2 separate regions of the Homo sapiens genome follow, and region 1 is linked to region 2. Evidence: promoter capture Hi-C in human tissues and cell types (Jung and others, 2019). All regions are on one chromosome and are shown on one strand. Each heading gives the region's core, a stretch centred on a gene start or on the middle of the fragment in contact. The rest is flanking DNA. Distances are from core to core; before and after follow the strand shown. Region 1 overlaps THBS2 (thrombospondin 2). Region 2 holds the start of WDR27 (WD repeat domain 27).

Region 1 (6,885 bases), core at 1,313-3,812, 480 kb before region 2:
TGGATGGGTGGATGGATGGGGTGGGTGGGTGGATGAGATGGATGGATGGATGGATGAAATGAGTGGGTGGATGGATGGATGAGTGGGTTGGTGGATGAGATGAATGGGTGGATGGATGATGAGATGGTTGGGTGGCTGGATGAGATGGATGGATGGGTGGATGGATGGATGAAATGGATTGGTGGATGGATGAAATGGGTGGGTGGATGGATGGATGAGTGGGTTGGTAGATGAGATGAATGGGTGGATGAGATGAATTGATGGATGGATGGATGAATGAGATAGGTGGGTTGGTGGAGATGGATGGGTGGGTGGATGGATGAGATGGATGAGTGGGTGGGTGGGTGGCTGAGATGGATGGATGGGATAGATGAGTGGGGGTGGATGAAATGGATGGGTGGATGGATGGATGGATGAGATGGATGGGTGGGTGGGTGGATGGACTAGATGGATAGGTGGATGGGGCTGGGTGGATGGATGGATGAGATGGGTGGGTGTGTGGGTGGGTGGATGGATGAATGGATGGATGGATGAGATGGATGGTTGGGTGAATGGATGAGATGGATGGGCGGATGAGTAGATGGATGGATGGGATGGATGGATGGATGAGACAGGTGGATGGATGGATGAGATAGGTGGGTGGATGAGATGGATGGATGGGTGGGTGGGTGGATGGAGGGATGAGTGGGTTGGTGGATGAGATGGATGAGTGCATGGGTGGGTGGCTGAGATGGATGGATGGATGGATAAGATGGATGGATAAGTGCTGGGTGGATGGATGGATGATGAGTGGGTGGGTAAGTGGATGAGATGAGTGGATGGATGGATGAGTAGGTGGGTGGATGAGATGAGTGGATGGATGGATGAGTAGGTGGGTGGATGAGTGGATGGATGGATGAGTAGGTGGGTGGATGAGATGAGTGGATGGATGGATGAGTAGGTGGGTGGATGAGATGGATGGATGGATGGATGAGATGGATGTATTGATAGGTGGATGGATGGATGGATGAGTAGGTAGGTGAGTGGATGAGATGAATGGATGGATGGGATAGATGAGTGAGTGGGGGTGAATGAAATGGTTGGGTGGATGTGTGGGTGGATGGATGGATGAAATGGATGAGTGGGTGGGTGGGTGGATGGATTAGATGGATAGGTGGATGGGTGGGTGGATGGATGGATGGATGAGATAGTTGGGTGGATGGGTGGTTGGATGGATGAGATGGGTGGGTGTGTGGGTGGGTGGATGGATGGATGGTTGGGTGAATGGATGAGATGGGTGGATGAATGGATGGATGGATGGGTGGATGGATGAGATATATGGGTGGGTGGATGAATGATATGGATGGATGGGAGGAAATGAGATGCCTTGAAAGACATCCTAACATAAGGAGAAGAAAACCTCCACAGAAGCAAGCAGATAAATCAACCCCAACAGGGTTTTGCCCTGTTGGCCAGGCTGGTCTCGAACTCCTGACCTCAGGGGATCCACCCGCCTTGGCCTCCCAAAGGGCTAGGATTACAGGCATGAGCCACTGCCCCCAGCCAAACACATGATTTTCAATGTGTGATTCTTGAGAAGCATCCTGAGCCTTATTTACTGCATCTGTGGAAGGGTAATGCGCATTTGAAGGCATGGAATTAGAGCAGATGGAATTCAAGTTATCTTCCAGGTCTATAATATTTTGATTCAAATATACCTGTAGCGAGATAACTATAGAGAAACTCCTTCCTTCCTTCTTTCCTTCCTGCCTGCCTGCCATTGCTAATGCAAGGGTACCAATCTAAAATGGCGTCAGGAGCCTGGAAGTGGAGGAAATCTAGGAAACTCTAGGCTATGGCACAATGAGGATGGGTGGGACCTGTAAATAATTGGAAAGTGTTCTACCAGAGGCATCCAAATGCAATTAAAAACAAAACAATCCAAGCTGACCAAATGAAATGGCTGCTTGGAATGTGCAGGGGGCTCATGTGTGGTATTGTGCATTAGGTTTATTGCCCTGATGTACAGCTTTTGTAAGTGGAAGAGCGCACTGTGTACCCCTTTCCCTTTCTGGGTGCCACATGCCTTCCCCACTAACCTGAAGTGCTCACACTCACCTCTGCATTCGTACTTGAGGTCTGAGAAATAGACCATTTCTTGAGAGAAGACAAATAGACCCAGCCGCCCGCCAGCGTAGGTTTGGTCATAGATAGGTCCTGAGTCTGCCATGACCTGTTTTCCTTCATGCACTAAGACTCTAAAAATGGTGTTTAAAAAGAAGAAGAGGAAAGAAAGACAACATGAACTCTGTGAAGCATTCACCAGTGATGGAAGGTTGGCTCCGGACACAAGCTGTGGATACTCCGCCCAGGGCTTCAGTGCCCCAGGGGGCATTGCTGGCTTTCTCCTTTGGAGCTCCAGCCACCCCTGGTGCAGCACTGATCCAGGGCACGCCTTCCTTCTTGCAACCACACTATTGTCACAATCTGTGAGTTCACTTACAGTCACCCAGGCAAGGGCTTTAGAGGAGACTCTACCTTTGGTGGGGTGAGGAGGAAGCTTCCCACTTCCTGGGAAGATGCACCGGACTCTCCCTACTTCACCTTGTGCTAAAACCATGAGCTCACCGGCTCTCCTCCCCACTGTGGAAGCTGCGTGGGAGCAGGACTGGATACACCAAGCCCCCGACAGGAGGATGGGGCATCAATATGAATAAACAGGAGGCCCCCTAGGGAAACGTTCCAGCGAGGCCACGAGCCTGCACTTCACCCACACAGATCTGCCCTCTATTGCCAGGGACTCACACACTCCTGGCATCTGTGCAGAGTCCAGCCTGATCTTGGTGCTTATTAACTTTGAAAAAACAAAAACACCTTGATTTTAAATTGACCACATTTTGTTTGAATAAAAATCAATTATAAATACTGTTAAGCCAAGGGAAAAGATTCTGTTGGGCTAACTGTGTCAAAACTTCATACAACCGTGTTTTAAATTCAGCCATTTATATCAGGTACAAATCTAGTCTCCAATAAAGCACATGCTAATTCTGCAAAGATGCAGTTATTTTAATTGCAGGTGTTCTCCCCTGCCTGGGGTATTCATTAGGAGAAAATATGGTTATCATCCCAAAACAAAGCAGATTGTATATTCTCCTTTTCAACCATTTTTTAAAAATACTTAATATTTAGTAGAGATGCAGGATAGAAAAGAGAAAGCAGTTAATGACGAAGAATCCAGAGTAAAACAAAAAGTTAGAATTCACTTGAGCTTATTTGTCTATTAATGTTCAAATGTGCCGTCCGATGGGAAGCCCCTTGGAAGAAATGCAGCTGTGCTGACCTGCCCTCACCTGATGTAGCCAGTCTTGGGCCTGTGAGTCAGGTGCCACCTATAGGCCGTGTAGTCCTTCCAGCCAATGTTCCTGGGGTCGTGCCATAAGGTTCGCACCTGAGAGAGAACATAGCACTCTTGAGTGCCATGGGCACCCGGAGCCTTAACCACAGCTCTGTAACACCAAGCAGGAAGCAAAAACATGACTTTGCAAGTTCATGCTTAAGGCTCATGGTGCTCCATATCTCTCTGATGTGTTTATCATCCAAATCTCTACTGTGGATTGAAGCCCATGGACAGAGTGTGGCTCAGGGCTGAGAGCCAAGGCACCTGACCCTCAGATTCCTGGATTGAAGAGCCCAGGCACCTGATCCTCAGATTCCTGGGTTCATGTCTGGATCTTCTCTTTCCTTGATATGGGATGTTGGGCAAAATTCTTGAAGTTTTGATATTCAATTCTCCCTAGCTTCAATTTTTAAAATATTTTTTTCATATTATATCTTTGATCATTATGTCCTATGCTCACTCCCTATCTCCAGAAGAGGGTAAAAGAGGTTTAATTTGTAAAAGGATTAGCAACTGTATTTAACTGGTAATTATCAACTGTGTTGAGTTGTAACCCCAGGCACAGTGTCTATAATAAAGTAAGATTATTAAAATAACTGTGCCTGGAGTTAAAATTAATAAAGACAAAAGTGGGGTCTCTGGACTGGGCTAGTCCTGCTGAAACACTCTGCAGCCACAGTGGTGCAGAGGAGATGTGTGGGCCTGGCCAGCCAACCTCACCTGCCCCGGCGTGTTCCCCGTGTGCCACAGCGCGTTCCTCAGGTGCTCGCCCGTCCCCGTGGTGGAGTTCACCACCTTGAGGGACACGCCGGAGTAGCCATAGGCCCGCGTGGGCTGGTCCTCCCAGTAGGTCTGCGTCACCTGCTTCCACATCACCACATAGAAGCGGCTGCTTGACTGGTAACCAAAGACGAAGCCGGCATAGTCGTCGTCCCGGTCAGTGTTTACGTAGAATGTGCCACTGAAGTCCACAGACCCAAACTCGTCAAAACCTGGATGCAACGCCATAAGGTTTCGTTAGAAACACCTTTCAGGTGGCCGGGAGTAGTGACTCATGCCTGTAATCCCAGCACTTTGAGAGGCCGAGGTGGGCAGATCACCTGAGGTCAAGAGTTCGAGACTGGTCTGACCAATATGGTGAAACCTTGTCTCTACTAAAAATGCAAAAATTAGCCGGGCATGGTGGTGGGTACCTGTAATCCCAGCTACTCAGGAGGCTGAGGCAGGAGAATCACTTGAACCGGGGAAAAAAGGTTGCAGTGAACTGAGATTGTACCACTATACTCCAGCCTGGGGGACAAGAGCAAGACTCCATCTCAAAAAAAAAAAAAGAAAAAAAAGAAAAAAAAAAGAAACAGGTTTCAGGCAATCCCCAGCTTGGCCCTGTGACCATCTGACAGTGGATGCCCAGCAGGCAGGGCGGGCTCCCCTCATCATCCCGATGGGCTCTTTTACCATGAGATTAGTGGAATTGAAGGTATTTCTTTTAGATCCAACTTACAAGAGTTCTGAGAGGATTATGAGGTCCCATTTCATAGACCAAGTCTATAAAATAAAATGGTTTACTGAAATTTCAGAGACTTCAGAGCGGCAGGTGCATGTACCTGTCAAGGTTATTTAGGCAGACAGTTTCACAGACCATGGAAGGATGGGGGCTTCCAGAAAGACCACATGGCATCCCACCTGCATGATCTTAAAGTGCAGTCTGCATCTTCTGTGGGCGCCTCCCCCGGAGAAATGCTGGCACCACCGCCGTGTCTCAGAGACTCACCTACAGCGATGCCGGGGTCCGAGTTGGCTGTCTGAACCAGCTCCTTGCCTTGATGGCGAATGACCCAGTTGGGATCAATTTGGGTGGTCCCTTTGGGATCCAAGGGGACCATCTGGAAGTTCCTGAAGTCTGTCTCACTGATGGCATTGTTTTCAGGACACACATCATCAATATCTGGGATGTTGTCATTGTCAAAATCATCTTTACAAATATCACCCCGTCCATCACCTATGCACAAAGAACAAGCAAAAACAAAAACAAAAACAAAGAAGCAAAGTCGGTGGTCGGTGGTTTGCCATTTGCTTTTCCGTGTCTGAGAAACATGAGTGCATCTTTCCCAGAACATCTAAGACTGAGTGCTTTGCAGTGTTTTGTGGATTCGTGCTCAACAATCTCCAAAACATTTGACTTCACAGGAACCTCAACTCTTTTCACAAAATTTTTGTGATAAATACACAGCAAAGGCCAGCACAGCAAATTCACATAAAGCCATTTCTCACCGTGTTCCAAACTCAATGCTGCAGGTATAAAACCTGAATGGCTGTCAAGTAATATCAACCTGCATTTCCAGCTTTGTGTTTGGATAGTTTTCTGAATGTCTGTTATTACTTTTCTTAGTCATCCTTGCCTTTTATAGTCTATTTGGCATTAAAGCGGAACTCACACTAAAATGGTTTTTCCTAGGGAGACATGGACTTCCGCTGTTTAGTGGGTCCTTGTCAAGTTTTCAGCGGGGTTGTGGCATGGTGGGGAGTGGGGATGAGGTGGGCCTGGTGCAAACAGGGGGACCACGAATTTGCCACATGTGTCCAGTCTATCAGTCTACGGCGATGACGATAACCTGACAGGCAGATTGCAATGTACTGAATTAGCTATCACGTGGCCTGCCGTTTTGGAGGAAAGGCAAGTTGGATTGAATATCTCATCATATTCTTCAACTAGTTTCCGTTCTGTTCAAGAACATACTCCAGCTACCACGTGGCAGGCACATAGTTGGTATCAGGGCATTCTGAAATGCTGAAATGCTGCTCTGCCTATCAGCTTCTCTCTGTCCCAGTCCCTCCCTGGGGAAAGGCTGCATGGGGAGCAAGCCCCTGCATGCCCGAACACGGAGTCCAGATGAGGCTTGCTGTGCTCACTCCATCCCTTCATGCTGCTCGGGGAGAACACAGGAGCTGCCCTTCTGATCCCAGCATCTCCCACGTACTTCTGAGTCATGCTGTCTCAGATGCCCCTCAAGTCCTTATCTCCCTCTGTCAAGGACGTGGCTTCCAAAGAGAGCCTGTGTCAGCCAGGCCCCACTCCAAGTGAGGGCCACTTTCTCACAGCCTCCCCGGAAGCCCCAGAGCACAGCTGTGCCCTTGTTTATTACTCAGGGACGCTGACTTAGAGGACTGCAGCCCATCCAGCTCCTTCCTTGGGCCCCCGTGGCTATGGGCCACCTATTCATGCTCACTGCTGAGCAAAGCAGCTCTTCCTCTCATGCTTCACACTCGTGCCACTTTTGTTGGCTTTGCTTTCAAAAAAATCCTCCTTGTCCCCTGCCTGGCCCCATACACCAAATTCCCAATTCATCCTACGTTCGTAACCCGCATTCTTTCTAGGAGATCGTCAACAATCTGGAAGTTATATGGAGGCAGGGATTTCTCCTCCTCCCGACGTGCACACACACTTGAGGCAGCACACCTGTTGAAGGGCACACACACAGCCAAGAATGTGTTGAGTGTCAGGGGAGAAG
Region 2 (6,555 bases), core at 975-3,474:
GACCCTGTCTCTACTTTAAAAAAAAAAAGTAGTCAGGTGTGGCAGTGCATGCTTGTAGCCCCAGCTGCTGGGGAGGCTGAGGTGGGAGGATCGTTTGAGCCACGGAGGTTGAAGCTATAGTGAGCTGTGATTGTGCCACTCTACTTCAACCTGGACAACAGTGACATCCTGTCTCAAAGGAAAGAAAAAGAACAATGGACAAGGGAATTCCTCCCAGATAGCAGAATCAGGGTCTAGTTGGGAAATTCCTCCCACCTCCACCCCAGCATCACTTCAAAACTGCTATAGACCAGTGTCTGCCATGTGTCTCCCTTTTCCAAAAGGGAGATGGTTACAAAAACCATGGTCATATTTAACCACTGCATTTTAGTGGGGAGAGCAACTAGTTTGTCTTCTTAGTCCATAGGGCTCTGGACCACGAGGAACCACAGCCAGGCCTGATGGAGAGAACTGTGCAATCCTGAGAAATGTTCTGTGTTGCACTAGGCACCTTGACAAAGTGTCCCCCTTGGGGTGGGGAGAGTGTGTTCTCCATGTGGGATCAAGAGTGGAGCAGAGATCTGGTCACCAGAAGAGAGACTACGGTAAGTGCTGTTCCTTTTCCACTAAGCCACTTCCCTTTCCTTCTAGACACAGAACTAAACTACACTCCCTAGCTTCCCTTGCAATTAAGTGCAGCCATGTAGTCGTTGAGTGCCTGGCCCATAAATTCCTCCTGCACTGCCTCTCTTCTTTCCCCACCCACTGGCTAAATGCGGAGAATTCAGAGGGCCTAAGGAAAAAAACCACAACATGGAAGAATTTTAGGCTGCAGCTTGCAGAGAGCTGCCCAAAGGAATCGTCTGACTAGAAACCGCTACACAGGACTGTGTGAGCAAGAAACATGCAACTGTTCTATTGGGGTGAATTGCTACAGCACTTAACCTACCTCCACTAATATAAATTGTTTAACATTTTTTTGAATTACAAAAGCAATACAATACAAAACATTTAAACAATGCAGAAATAATAAAGTTTTTTATCCCTACCTCCTCTCCCTGCTGTGCCAACCCTAGGGGATAATCAATGTCACAGGATATCCCCAGGAATATCCATGTACATACATGCACAGAACAAGTCAGGGAAAATAAACTAAATTTATTATTTTAGTGAGATTCTAGTGCACCTAACACTAGGTAAGCACTTCAGGAAAAGGCAGTGACAAGTGATTGCTAAAGATACCATAGTCTTAAAGTTAAGTCAGTAAACACAAGATAGTAATCCCAGATAAACTGGAAGCTGTAGAGTTAATACTCCTTTACTGGTACAGAGCAGTGTGTGTAAATTGTAGAAAATTTAGAAATACATAAAAAGATGAAAACTCTACTACTCGAGGAGTACCACTGATAAAATCCTGTGCATTTCCGTTTTTTTAATGTACATACGAATATTTTTAAAAAGAGAAAATTACTCCCTTCTGATTAGAAAAGATCGAAATTTTTCTCTTTTAGTGATAATCAAGTCAGAAACTTGCTGTTTGGCTCGAGTTAGGAAAACCTAGCCTGGTAGTTACCACGCAGGTTGAAAGGCCAGTGGGGCATAATTAACGAGCCCTCAGGGTCCACGCTCCCGCCCTCGGAGCTCAGAACCGACGGGAGGTGCAGGAGGCCGGGCATTTCTACAGCCCTGGTTCGTTCCTAAACTACTGAATCTTTTAAAGAGATCTGAGTGCTCCTTATACACAGCTGCTTTAATTAAAATAACCACCTGAGCCCTTTTCCTCCGAACTCCACATGCGCTCAGTTCTCAAAGCGCCGATCTCAAGCGGCCGCCCGGATGCTCCGGCCCGACTTGTGCCCCGAATTCCCCTGGAGACCCTCGCACTAGCACGGCGTCAGGAGGAGGCTTCGGGTGACGAGACAGCGGGCAACGGCTCTGGTCCAGAGCGCGCGTGTCCGCCGTTGGAAGCGGTCACGGCGGAACCCTCAAATCGCCCCCTTTCCTAGAGACCTCAGCGGAGCCGCGAGCAACCGCGCAGCCCCCGCGCTCCAGCCCTGCGCCCTAGGCACACGCCCCAGAGCAGCAGCTCGGGTTCGGCGCCGACTCCGCGCCGAGACCAGCCCGCTAGGGGAGGACTCACAGCACCCAGCTCCCAGGAGGGCACGCAGAGGACTACCGAGCCACACTCCGCCCCACGCTCGCCGCTATGGTTACTTGCCAGCCGACCCACGCGAGCCGCTATGGTTACTAGCCCGCCGCCCCTCGCGCCCACGCCCCTTTCGCTATCTCGCGACAGCTGGAGAAGCCTCGCTTCCGGCCGGCTCACTTACGGACCTAGCGTCACTTCCGCCTCCGGCGAGGCTCCGGCCTCGGGTCCGGATGTATAAAGCGCGGCCCCCTGCGGGGAGTGGTGGTGAGTCCGAGGGTGCCACAGCGGCCCTGCCCCTGCCCCTGCCCCTGCCCTGAGTGGGCGCCGCGCTACGGGGGAGGGGTTAACCCACCCCTCCTCCCCGGGGCCTCACGCGGGTGGGAAGGGACAGTCCCAGCGACAGACCAGGCGCCTGGACGCGCCGTGGACCCGCGTGCGGACGGCGGGGACAGGCTCCGGTGCTGAGCGCCTCCGGTGTCCCCAGCAGCACTGACCCACTTGCAGGCCCCGGAGCTGAGCCGCCAGCCATGGCCGCTCCCCGCGGGAGGGCCGCGCCCTGGACGACGGCCCTGCTGCTGCTCCTAGCCTCGCAGGTCCTGTCTCCGGGAAGCTGCGCGGACGAGGAGGAGGTCCCCGAGGAGTGGGTGCTCCTGCACGTCGTCCAGGGCCAGATAGGCGCCGGGAACTACAGCTACCTGCGGCTGAACCACGAGGGCAAGATAGTCCTCAGGATGCGCAGCCTCAAGGGAGATGCGGATCTGTACGTCTCCGCCAGCAGCCTGCACCCCAGCTTCGACGACTACGAGCTGCAATCGGCCACCTGCGGCCCGGACGCCGTGTCCATCCCCGCGCACTTCCGGCGCCCAGTGGGCATCGGCGTCTATGGACACCCCTCCCACCTGGAGAGCGAGTTCGAGATGAAGGTGTACTACGACGGCACGGTCGAGCAGCACCCGTTCGGCGAGGCCGCCTACCCCGCCGACGGCGCAGATGCCGGCCAGAAGCACGCTGGTGCCCCGGAAGACGCCTCGCAAGAGGAGGAATCTGTTCTCTGGACGATATTAATTAGCATTTTGAAACTGGTACTTGAAATTCTCTTTTGAGTCGTTGACCACACTCTGGGATATAAAACCCTCCATCTGTGAAGCTGATTGCAGTTTGCTGTGAACCTTGCTACTTGTACTTGGTTGAAGTTCTAGGTACCTTTAGTCAAGGGATGGAAAAATAAAGCCATACGCAGTTTTGTTACCTCAGTTACCCCAAAAATAGGAAAAGCAGCAAGCACAGTATTTTAAAGATCATAATTCCTATAAAAGGACTGTGCACAAAGTGTTTAGACTCCATTTTCATTAGGCAGGTTGACTAAAAATGATTGCAGTAACAGGTTTATATAAAATAGAGCAACCTTTCATGCTGTGACACAAATCAAAAGGTTGATAACTTTGTAATTTTACTCTGGAGATTCTAACCGAAGTTGGTGTAAGTTTTCAAGAGTTACTAAAATCAAGTTGGAAATGATTTACGTACACTTCCCTGAGCCTGGACTAAAGCCTCATGCCTGTACCCCAAGTAGGTGATGGTACTTTTCTATACAAAAAGGATTTCCTGGCAGGCAGGTATTTACAAAGTTTGTTCCTGTACCAGTCCAATAATGACAACTCTAAATCCAGCTGCACCAAATCTTAGTGGGCCATTTGTCATACCTATGAAAATTCTTCAGTTATTAAATAACTTTGTCAGTGCTACCTATGGTAGGCCGGAAACAATGTAGATTAGGAAGTTTCATGAAAATTAACTTTTGGGGCTATGGAGAAACAGTTAAGTATCTTAAGTTACTAAACATTTCCACTGAATTTTTGGAGTGAGCCAAGGTTACTATAAAATACTTTGGAAGATGAATTCTCTACCTGGAGTTAGTTTCGAGAGTAAGCGTAGCTTTTAACAGAAATAACTGCAGATTTTAAGCTCATAATTTGCAAAAAAAATCTTTTATTGGCATGAAAATAATGTTGTAAATGGCACCAAATATTCCACTTAAATGCATATACAGTATTAGAGTCAAAAACTATTTTATCCCTCTTTGCTGTTTTTCCCCCTTCTGCCCACTTTCCTGGGTGTTGGGGGGGCCCGCTGACAACAGTCACAAATCCAGCGACCTAGGAAAAAAATTGTTAATATAGAATGAAAAATTATCTTTACAGGACTGAATTTTAAGCCCATCTAAACTCTTCTGCCTTAGCTATCACTAATGATATTCCTCTCTGGATTTTGTGGTGAGAAGGGCACTATGAGTTCCTTAATTTAAGGAAAAAATGTAAACTTAATCAATGTAATCAATGCCATGCAAAATTCATTGCAAGTCAAGGGGGATGGGAGAGATGCAATGCCATACGGTGATACGGACCTTTAAGAAAGTACAATCTTTCCTGAAATTCAAACACTATCATACTTCAAAAGGTCAAAACCCATTCCGGAATTTGGCTTTTTTAAGACTTTTTCTCTCCTGCTCACTGGCAGCTGTGTGTCTTAACAGCATTCTTTCAAGTCCTGGTGTACTCTGCTGACAGCACTTTAAAACTTTAACAGCACAATGATAACTTGTACTACATACTTGATCTGAATTACTACAGAAAAATAATTATGTTGCTTGCTTAATGATTCCCAGGAAACTTCGTTGTAGGCATATATTTTATAAGAGTATTATACAGTGTTAACTATGCAAGTAAGTTCTAAAATTACACAATTATCTGTGTAATGTTTTAGTCCAATTACTGTGATTTATTCAACTCTGTTCTAAAGTTATCTGGAATTGTCATGCTGCCTCAATTTACAGAAATCTATAATAGATTTCTATAGAAATGTATAAAGACGTAGCAGTCATTTTGTTGTTTCTAAATAGATAACATATAAAAATAAAGGCTTTGTTACTTTAGTATTTCAGTAGAAAAACACCAGCTCATTCTATAGAACTATACTTCCAAAACTTAGCAGGGGCATTCTGGCCTTTCACTTATCCTTTAGTTGGAATTGTCTAGGGATGAAAAGCTGGTGGACATGACCTGTATAATCACAGCTTTGGTCATATTTGCACATAAGAGTCCACAAGCTCTTCATGTCATGATAGCGTTTATGCAGCCTTTTGGAGTGCTGGGAGAGTCTCATCACCCAAAGATAATGTTTGCTCTTTTTTTAATCTTTACCTGATGGAATAGCACCAAGGCCCACACAAAAAGTATGATAACCTCTGTCACACATATCACAGAACATCATTTCTTCTTCATGGTGGGGTTGTCCACATATAATGCATGTTTTACATTCCATACACTGCCATGGGTAGGTCTTAATCATAGAAACAAGCTCCATTGTCATATCCAGGCAAGAAGGATGGCCTAAATCAAAACCAGTATTAGTGGTATCTCACATAAGAAATTTTAACTTAATATGGCACATAAAATACTAGTTTGCTTTAGGACTTCCAGAGAATGGCTATAATGTCAAATCGCCAAAGAGAAATGAATATACAATGTAGAGGAAAACACATGGGCTGTGTCTATGCCTCACAAGCTACCCTGTGTATTTAATTTGGTGACTCTTTGGTTGAAATCTGCCTGAAACTATAAATTCTAGTTTTTGAACCAATAAATACGGTGGTTAAAATTTTAAAAAGACATTTCAATACTTACCACTATTCTCACATTGGGAGCAGTGTATAAGTGATTCAGCCTTTCCTTTCTTGTTGGACTCCTTACCCTTCAGACAAATTCCACATATAGCATTTGGAATGACCTTTGGCTGGAAGGGTAGAAGAGGGCTATAAATTCATGCCAGAAGAGCTTACTATGGGTTTAAAAGGAATTCTGTTACTTTATTGCCCTATTTTTACTTTTGGTAACTTGCTAATGAGGACCATTTTGAAAGACAAAACTTGACAGGAGTCTGCCTACAATGTAAGACTGCCTACTGAAGAAAGCATTAATTTCATCATAAAATTTGGTAAACAGCATGATCTCGTAAGATTAAATGTAGCATTCTATACTCCCTACATGCACAGTAAGATTTGTTTAATGAATGGAAGGAAAGACTAAATACAATGTCAAATGTCACTATTAATTGGACAAGAAAATCCAAGTAGCAAATGACCATTATGTGTAAGACTTACTCTAAAAAGACCATTTTAAATAGCTCATATATTAATTTTGTTTAAAACCTGCTATTTTCCAAAACTGCAAAACTAGAGCTATAAAATCTAAGTTAAAAAATCAGCTTATCCTCATTGGTATAGTGGTATTTAAAAAAAAATCAGTTTAAACATTTTTAATTGAAAGATGTCTCATGCATACATTGGCGTGTACATAAACGTTTGTGGAAAACTTAGTTGTGTGATTATTCTCTTTGCATGTCTAATAAAAGAATCTATACTTAGAAAG

What was found. Contacts are between HindIII fragments. The study calls those that stand out against the background at their distance.
Region 1: a contact is called between a fragment that was not itself captured here and the fragment with the promoter of WDR27 in region 2, in 1 of the 25 tissues and cell types used here (spleen).

Annotation. Positions count from the first base shown.
Region 1 is chr6:169,218,101-169,224,985 of GRCh38, forward strand. THBS2 (thrombospondin 2) reads right to left here. Exons shown (of 22, transcript NM_003247.5): 18 at 5,148-5,375; 19 at 4,097-4,368; 20 at 3,330-3,427; 21 at 2,098-2,237. The region is part of intron 2 of THBS2-AS1 (THBS2 antisense RNA 1); the gene reads left to right. Among named protein-coding and RNA genes, the nearest start is that of THBS2-AS1, 8.3 kb to the left of the region's middle. RefSeq lists an enhancer at 5,933-6,885. The HindIII fragment of the contact is 9,382 bases long and covers 1-6,885 here.
Region 2 is chr6:169,699,805-169,706,359 of GRCh38, forward strand. It overlaps WDR27 (WD repeat domain 27), which reads right to left and starts at 2,225. Exons shown (of 26, transcript NM_182552.5): 1 at 1,747-2,225. It overlaps C6orf120 (chromosome 6 open reading frame 120), which reads left to right and starts at 2,322. Exons shown (of 1, transcript NM_001029863.3): 1 at 2,322-6,555. The coding sequence starts at 2,656. The coding sequence ends at 3,231. It overlaps PHF10 (PHD finger protein 10), which reads right to left. Exons shown (of 12, transcript NM_018288.4): 10 at 5,812-5,920; 11 at 5,329-5,517; 12 at 4,098-4,284. The coding sequence ends at 4,199. RefSeq lists enhancers at 1,779-1,858, 2,179-2,268 and a silencer at 2,319-2,688. The HindIII fragment of the contact is 14,983 bases long and covers 1-6,555 here.